Linked DNA regions of Homo sapiens: all the other regions are linked to region 2. Evidence: promoter capture Hi-C in human tissues and cell types (Jung and others, 2019). All regions are on one chromosome and are shown on one strand. The core of a region is centred on a gene start or on the middle of the fragment in contact, and the rest is flanking DNA. Distances in the headings are between cores, read along the strand shown. Region 1 overlaps VCF1 (VCP nuclear cofactor family member 1). Region 2 holds the start of CPSF4L (cleavage and polyadenylation specific factor 4 like). Region 3 overlaps COG1 (component of oligomeric golgi complex 1).

Region 1 (2,894 bases), core at 225-2,724, 34 kb after region 2:
AAGGTTGGAGAGAAATGAAATAATGCAACGTGATGGAATCAACCATCTGTAGAAGTAACAGATGCTAACTGGTAATCTGCACCTAGATGGTTAGGGAAGAATATAATCAGTTATAGGGGTGCCTGCTAAAATCATAACCTGGTCTGTGGCATTAATGCCAAAAATTGTAATCTGATTGATTGAACTGATAGGGATGAGCATGAAGCTGTAATCTTGCCAGTTGTTAACACCATTGTTGAAAGAAGAATGTTTCAAGGATGAGATCTGCTAAGAGCCTAGAAAAAGGCAAATGAAGAGCAGGTAGGACTCTTTCTTAATCTGGTACCATCCAGAGGAGAAGGCTACCAACAGGCCAAAGAGATTATTCTGGTGCCTTGAGAGATCAAGTAATTTATGAGGCAGGGATATTTCATGTGACTCTCCCAGAGATTAGTTGAAATCCACAAAATCATCTCATCTTTTTTTGTTCTTACAGTCCCTCTGCCATGCAACCTCCTTGACATTCATAGTCTTGTCCCTGGAAAGATCTATCCCCCATTATAAATGAGGAGATAGCAAATTTTGATCAGGCTCCTAAGTTTGGTTAGAGTGACTCAGCAGCCCAAAGCCCAGTCAGCTGTTGGCACGCTGATAAAATGGGTGTGTGAGGACCAGCAGCTGCTACTTACTCAATGACTTTCTCTTTGGGTGTCGACTGGCCTCCCAGCAGACATTGCTTTGCCTCTGCAGAACACTCCCACTCAAATTCCCTGATCATATTAGGATGAAATTAGCAGTTTCTTGGTTCAAATTTATGATAAAAGCACACCCATTTAATGATTATTAAAACCTGATATTCATCTATTTTTTTTTAACCTCCAACTACTTCAAAGTAATGTGCAGCTAAGATCTGATCTCCTAAGAGAAAGGTGGGGAGCAGAAATGTCTTAGAATGAAGTAAATTACATAGCCCAGTGCAGGATGGTTGAAGCTTTATCAGAACCACACACTCTTTATTATTCCAAACTTAAGCTGGGATCCATACTCATTATTAAAGTTAGACCTATTCAGAATGTTGCAGAGTACAGAGAAGTGAGCTTAGGGTGATCATTTATTTTCTCTAATATTCAAACCTCAACTCAAAACCTTTAGGATTAAAGGCCTGCCACTGTAAGCCACCCTACTCTCATAGAAAGTGTATAATTATTTAGAAGACACTATATCCTCCAAATGTACATGCTTTCCAAGAGCTGTGTGTCCACACTAGCCTTTTGTCTCTTAACTATAGAAAGCTGAAACTTCAAGGGTTTTGTAATAGGTGCTGCTGCCATGTACATACAGACCTCTAGCCTGTGCTGCTCCGGAGAACGTTCTGCAGTGACGGAAATGTCCTTTATCTGTGCTGGTCAGTGCAGTAGCCACTAGCTACACGTGGCCACTGAGCACTAGAAACAGGGCAGCTGTGACCTAGGAACTGGATGGTTAATTTTAGTTAATTTAAATGTAAATAACCATATGTGGCTAGTGGCTACCGTATTGGACAGTACAGTTCCGGGCAATTTGACTGAAAATTATACCTCCTTTAATTTATTTCTGTTTTCTAACAGGTTCAGAAATCGTTTTGACAGCACATAATTCTTAAATAGAGTACATGCAAATTTGGTCTTTCTTGCATGTCCGAGAACACTTGCCTAAGAAAGATGTGTGATTTTTCTTTAAACCTGGAAATTTTAAGCAGCTTATGCTATCATCTCATAGTAACAATCTAGTGAAGTAATTGTTATATCATAATACCGGCTAGTGTTGCCAGAATAAGCAGGTGAATGTGACCAAGAGGTACTTTTATAAGGGTTTTCAGGGCAAATAGGCAAAGGCAGCCACTCTTATATCAAATGTTGTCATATGGAAGGGAGTACAATTAGGTAACTCGGAATCCTAATTTCAGGGAGTGTAAAAAGAAGAAAACCTTAATTAGGTTAGAGGTTGAAAGCTTAGTCATTAACCTCTTCCTGTTCTTGTTTCAGTCCCAACAGACATTTAAAATTGTTAAGCTTCTTTTTAGAAATGAGTTTTACTAACTTAAGCTTGACCTCGCTGCTGCTGTCTTGTATTTTTGCTCTTAGTGTCCAGTGATGCTGTACTTCCAACTGATAACCTATTGGGATATCATATGCTGAATTATGTTTTCTCAGGCCAGAGGGCAAATTTATATGTTGTTATGGTTTGCAATTCAAGTGTCCAAAACATCGGTTGTTTGGGTTTTTTTTTTTTTCTCCTTGTGATTTAATTTCAGGAAAAGGAGAAGGAATGGCAACGAAGAAGACAACCATCTTCCCCCCCAGACCAAAAGAAGTAGCAGAAACCCTGTCTTTCAGGATTCCTGGGACACAGAGGTAGGAAGTGTGGTCACATAGTCTGTTGTTTTCACTGCTTGAGTTAAATAACCTAGTATCTGCTGTGTAATTAAATTTACTTAAACAGTAATTTAAAATGACCTTAGTTGATTATACTGGTTTAACCTTTCTGTTTCCAAATCAGGGTCCCTTTGAGGAAGCTGTGTACCCTGTCCCCAGCAAAACAGTACATATGTGCACATAGTCATATATGTACACACTCATTTGTATTTGTTAGAAATTTCGTGGCTTTTTGAAAGCCTATGTTTGAACTCACTGTTTTGTATTTCAGCAGCGAACTTCTTTTCTGGTAGTTTATAAACCATGAATTGTCCTTAAGATAAACATATTTTGTTGCTTCAATTCAAATGCCTTTTAAGAGAAACTTTAAGCATGTAAAATATGTAAGGTATGTGTATGCAGAATCCCATTTCTCAGTGTTTTTACTTTTCATTATCTTGTTGTGAAAAGAGCTCCTGTGGTGAGAGGGAAGGGGAGTTGGGTGTTCTGGAACTTTTTTAC
Region 2 (2,700 bases), core at 160-2,659:
CCATCCATAGCGCCTCCCAAACCATGTGGTCTTGGCCTCCCTGGGCTTTGATTCCCTCATCAGTCCTGCCTGCGCTGCCAGGCTTCTGTGAGCCTTTAATGAGCCTGTGTTGACAGATGAATGCATTCTTGGGACTACTAATCAACGCATACAACTAAGGCCAAGAGAAGCCAGGGTTTCTACCCCAGGGACCCCCTTGGCCCCACCCTCTAGCCCTGGAGCTGGGTCCCTCTGCCTCTCCCAGGATGCAGTCAGAGGCCTGAGCTTCTGGAAACTCTTGGATCTCGTCCCTGCTCCTCCCAGTCCCACCTCGGCTCCAGGTGTCTATCTCTCCAGCTATTTTCTTTTCTGATCTGGAGTTCAAAAGAACAGATCTAGGAGCAACAGCCACGGGGAACAACAGCCAGCAGGCTAGTTCATGTTGGCCCAGCTGAGAGCCTGCGGGGCTGCCCACCTCTCCCTGCTGGGTTTGGGCACCCAGAAAGGAGGGCGTATGGGTTCTGGTTCTATGGGCATTAAAAGCCAATGTGACTGAGAACAGCAGCTCTAGTTAGAGGCAAGGCCAGTTTGGGGCCAGAGCAGGGGGAGGGGGAACCTGGTCTAATTAGAGCCCTAACATGCTCCTTTGAAAGCATTGTCAGATGTCCCCAGCCCTGCAGGCAGGGGTGGTGTAATAATAATAAAACAACATTTGCATAGAGATTTCATTTATAAAGCACTTTCTCAGGGGTGGGGTGGCACTGGGTGGCCCTGTGGAATCCTGGCTGGGAGGCCGCCCTGGCCTTGGTCGGTTCCGCCCTCCCGCCAAGCTGGCGATTGTGTGCGAGGTAAACAAAGCGCCATTCATCCAACTGTTTCAGTTCCTCTCCTCTTCATTCCTTTTTCCCTGTCTCCCACGAAGAGCTCACTCGGGGCTTGTCACTCAGGCCAGAAAAGGGGTGTCAGGGGCCCCAGAGGGAGACCCCTTCCCTCATGGGAAGAAGCGGGGAGGTGGGACGGCTCCCTCCCTCTGCAAACCCCCACCACCCCCAGCTCTGGCAGAATAACAGCCTTGCTGCGGTTGGTTTGTGCAACTCTTTGCTAACCTGTGGCTGTGTCTTCATGGACAAAGTATGAGCCCAGGTTTGGTAATGTCTGTGTGCACGCCACGTTTGTGTTCGGTAACATGCAAAGATAAGCAGTTTGTGGGGCTCTGCGAATCCCTCCCTATCCGAGTGAGCCTTGTGTACACAGTGTGGGGGTGAGGGGCCCTGGGGTGTCTGCCCCTGCACTGGGTGGGCCGGGTGAGGCAGCTGGGCCCTGCTCCTGTACAGCCCAGGCTGGAGCGTCCCCTGCAGTCACCTGGCCACTGGCACCCTGGGGTGAAGGGGGAGGCATTGGGCGCTGGCCCCTTAAGGGCCTCTGATGAGCTATATTGGGCCCACCTGCCTGGGTTCCAGCAGCTTCCGCAGCCCCAGCAGGAGACGGAAGATGCAAGAGGTCATTGCGGGGCTAGAGCGGTTCACCTTTGCCTTCGAGAAGGATGTCGAGATGCAGAAGGGCACTGGGCTCCTGCCTTTCCAGGGCATGGACAGTGAGTGAGGGTGGGGCCACTTTCCCTCCCCTACCTTCTCTGTTTTTTTTTCTTTGAGACGGAGTCTCGCTCTGTAGCCCAGGCTGGAGTGTAGTGGCACAATCTCGGCTCATTGCAAGCTCTGCCTCCTGGGTTCACGCCATTCTCCTGCCTCAGCCTCCCGAGGAGCTGGGACTACAGGCGCCCGCCACCACGCCCAGCTGATTTTTTGTATTTTTAGTAGAGACCGGGTTTCACCATGTTAGCCAGGATGGTCTCAATCTCCTGACCTCGTGATCCGCCCGCCTTGGCCTCCCAAAGTGCTGGGATTACAGGCATGAGCCACCACGCCCAGCCTCCCTCCCCCTTCCTTCTCTACAGGCCTCTCTGCTCAACTCCCTGATGCGACCGCCCCTTCTCTGTCTCTCTCTTCTGTGGCTTCGGGGCAACCCATTTTCCAGACTGAGAAAGAGAGGCACAGAGAGACGGTGAATTGAGAGAAGCCACACTGGCCTCCCGAGCTCCTGGGCCAGGCTTGAGCCCCTCGAGCTCCTCTGTTTCAGAGTTGGGGGGTTAAGGGTTGAGGTCTGCTGGCTGGCTCTGCAGGTTAACCTCTACAGGGCCCAGATTTGGGATCCCATAGGCCAGAGCCTGGGGGAGGTCTAGGTGGGACATGCCGATGGAGGTGGAGGCTTCCGGAACAGCTGCAGCCTCTGGGGAAGCTACCTTCTCCGTTCCCTCTTCTCCTTCCAGAGTCGGCCTCAGCTGTGTGCAACTTCTTCACTAAAGGGCTCTGTGAGAAAGGTGAGTTAGCAGACAGGCCTGGGCCCCAAGCTGGGTGAGTGTAGGGTCTGTCTGAGCTACACCCAGCAGGGGCTCTGCCTGGCCTGGGATAGGGTGTCGAATTTGCACCTGGGGAGGGAAAATTGGGATGGAACGGAATTTTATTTTTATTTTATTTATTTATTTTTAGATGGAATCTCGCTCTGTTGCCCAGGCTAGAGTGATCTGGCGTGATCTCAACTCACTGCAACCTCTGCCTCCTGGGTTCAAGCGATTCTCCTTCCTCAGCCTCCCGAGTAACTGGAACTACAGGTGCATGCCACCAAGCCCGGCTAATTTTTGCATTTTTAGTAGAGATGGAGTTT
Region 3 (2,700 bases), core at 1-2,500, 54 kb after region 2:
CTCATTGACAATTCCACCTTGTAGTGTCAACAATTAAGGTGTTGTTGAACGCTGATAAAATGTAAGCTACCTGAACTGATGTCTAAAGCAACAAGTATTGTGAAATTTTGGGACAAGGATTAACTTGATGCTTAAAGTAACCCCCAACAGTAACTAGGGGGCCACATTCCATCAGTGAAACTGGAAAGATTGGTGTGGCTGAGAATCAGATGAGCAGAGGCACCTTTAGAAGAAATAATGTGGTAGTATTTATTTAGGGAGAGACAGATGTGTTGCCATGTTACTTAGTCATACTAGAGAGCCAGCCAAGTTTGAATAATGAAGGTGCAGACGTGTTGTCTTCTTCACTGACAAGCTGTCTGAACAAGGAGCCAGGAACTGTCGGGTCACCAGCTGTGGAGCGTGCCGGGGGGACAACCTGCCATTGGATGTAGAGAAAAGTGCCTTAGAGTTGGCCTGAGCCCTCCTGCCCACTCGCCCTCCGCGCGACGCCACTCGGAGTCCACACGGCACACACAAGCGGAGCTGAGAAGCACGATGGCTCTAGTCAGAGGACTTTGCTGTCGGTCCAGATTTGAAGAGGACACGGAACAGCATGAGCCTTTGTGACAAAACTAGAATTTGGAAATGAGGACTGTCTTGGGAAAAGGGTAGACACAGGCACTTCTCTCCACAGCCTGCTAACCTAATGTGGGCAGAACTGAAAGATCACTGCAGTGGAAACTGTTCTGGAAGAGGCTGCAACATAGCCCATGCTTAGGGACTGGATGGTTTTTGCAAGAGCTTTTTTTTTTTTTAAACTACCATCTCCCAACTTTTAAAGCCAGATACTTGACAAGGATTTTAGATCTTAATGGGTTCGATGGTAGGGAATACGGAAAGGATACACTGCTAATATTGTGTCTAACAATAAAGCAAACAACTCGATGCTGTAAGAAGACAAGCTGTTTGAGCTTTCAAACACACATGCACACAGCACAATTCAGAAATACCCAGGAGGATTCCTGCAGGCTTAACAGTTGGCATCGTACTGAAATGAAACGTGTATTAACAAGAAAATGTCAAACTTTTGGGGAAACAAATTTTCTGTTACTTCCCACCCAACTAAAAGGGAAGATAAAACCATCATCACCAGAACAAAACAGATTTTCTCCAAACAAGTACAATGATAGTGCCGGGTTGGCAGTTAACTCTTTCACCCTACTAAATTCAAGAGCTCATCTCCACCCTGTCCTGTATATTTTCTACATTTCTATTAAGAGGCTACTTGGTAGTGTCAGCGGGCATCTTTTACACCTTCTAGTAGCTCAAGCTAGTAAAACCTTGTACTTCTCTATTGCGCCGCCATTAAAAGCAGCATTAGTGCATTTTGTCATTCAGTTCTTAATCAGTTATTTAAAAGGGAGCTGATCATGGGTGGCTCGGTGGGAGGTGGGGACCCATCCACGGATGAGCCTCTTGCTCTTGGCACCAACCTGAGCTTTTGTTTCGATGTTTCTGGTTGATTTAGCCTTTCGAGTGCTTGTCATGCTCAGTGGGAGAAGTCCAAACCTCCAAAACAAGAGGAAAGAATTTAGTAGCACAAACAGGCAGCTCTGGGGCCCAGCAGAAGCCTCATTTTTTTTTTTTTTTTTTTTTTGAGACAGAGTCTCGTTCTGTCGCCCAGGCTGGAGTGCAGTGGCGCAATCTCGGCTCACTGCAAGCTCCGCCTCCTGGGTTCACGCCATTCTCCTGCCTCAGCCTCCTGAATAGCTGGGACTATAGGCACCTGCCACCAGGCCAGCTAATTTTTTGTATTTTTTTTAGTAGAGACAGGGTTTCACCATGTTAGCCAGGATGGTCTCGATCTCCTGACGTGATCCGTCCACCTTGGCCTCCCGAAGTGCCCCGCAGAAGCCTCTTGGCAGCCTTTACCTGATCTGACTGGATGCCAGTGGCAGGATGTTATGGGGTTCTTGGGAGTTGAACGTACTGCTCCGGGGGGCGAGCTGATTCTCTGTACCAGTCACCAATCCAAACAGAACCTGGCAGACAAGAGGTGGAGCAGAGGTTTCATTGTGCAGGTAAAAGAAAGGCAAAAAAAAAAAAAAAAAGGTTAGTCACCCATCGCTACCGTATTTCTAACTGTCATTTTGGGGAATGTTCTGAGTGCATTTATGCTTCACGATTACTTTTTATCACTGCCCACAGGTCAGAATCTGAGAGGCAGGGAGTTTTTATTCCTCTTTCTGAGGCCTGGATAAAACTGTAATAATCCTTATTTACAACTTAAGGGGCCAAATCTTGGTTGCCTCAGTGTGTGAGATTTTATCTAATCCTCTTTCAGTCCTTATAACTACACTCGGCTATTTGTGTCTTATTCCCCTCCCTATGCTGCATCCTGGAGTATTACGTGCTTGAGCAGGTTAATTTTGTTATTTGAGCCTGTATCGCTTCGTTCGCACTAAGCATGTTTTTGATTTGACTCACAGAAGTTCGCTGCACCAGGCGATGAAGGTTGCTGTTGAGGTGTGGCGTGAAAACGTCCAGGTCAAATGGATCAATGAGGGCTTCCAGGTGGTCAGTCACTTTCTCAATTCTGAGAAAAGGATTAGGATCATTACTGTCCACATTTTTTAGGATCAAAAACAATCTTATGATATCCTACTGCTGTAGAAATCTTGGAGTTGGGTTTTATTCTACTTAGTTGCTGGCTTAGTA

The links. Contacts are between HindIII fragments. The study calls those that stand out against the background at their distance.
Region 1: a fragment that was not itself captured here is called in contact with the fragment with the promoter of CPSF4L in region 2 in 4 of the 25 tissues and cell types used here (hippocampus, mesendoderm cells, spleen and 1 more).
Region 3: a fragment that was not itself captured here is called in contact with the fragment with the promoter of CPSF4L in region 2 in 1 of the 25 tissues and cell types used here (liver).

What each region holds. Positions count from the first base shown.
Region 1 is chr17:73,226,643-73,229,536 of GRCh38, reverse strand. It overlaps VCF1 (VCP nuclear cofactor family member 1), which reads left to right. Exons shown (of 4, transcript NM_001098832.2): 2 at 2,273-2,372. Among named protein-coding and RNA genes, the nearest start is that of VCF1, 4.3 kb to the left of the region's middle. RefSeq lists an enhancer at 508-557. The HindIII fragment of the contact is 4,223 bases long and covers 1-2,894 here.
Region 2 is chr17:73,260,589-73,263,288 of GRCh38, reverse strand. It overlaps CPSF4L (cleavage and polyadenylation specific factor 4 like), which reads left to right and starts at 1,409. Exons shown (of 6, transcript NM_001129885.1): 1 at 1,409-1,573; 2 at 2,306-2,356. The coding sequence starts at 1,471. The HindIII fragment of the contact is 16,084 bases long and covers 1-2,700 here.
Region 3 is chr17:73,206,032-73,208,731 of GRCh38, reverse strand. COG1 (component of oligomeric golgi complex 1) reads right to left here. Exons shown (of 14, transcript NM_018714.3): 11 at 2,470-2,578; 12 at 1,915-2,024; 13 at 1,476-1,551; 14 at 225-418. The coding sequence ends at 281. VCF1 (VCP nuclear cofactor family member 1) reads left to right here. Exons shown (of 4, transcript NM_001098832.2): 4 at 1-1,367. Among named protein-coding and RNA genes, the nearest start is that of COG1, 14 kb to the right of the region's middle. The HindIII fragment of the contact is 8,479 bases long and covers 1-2,700 here.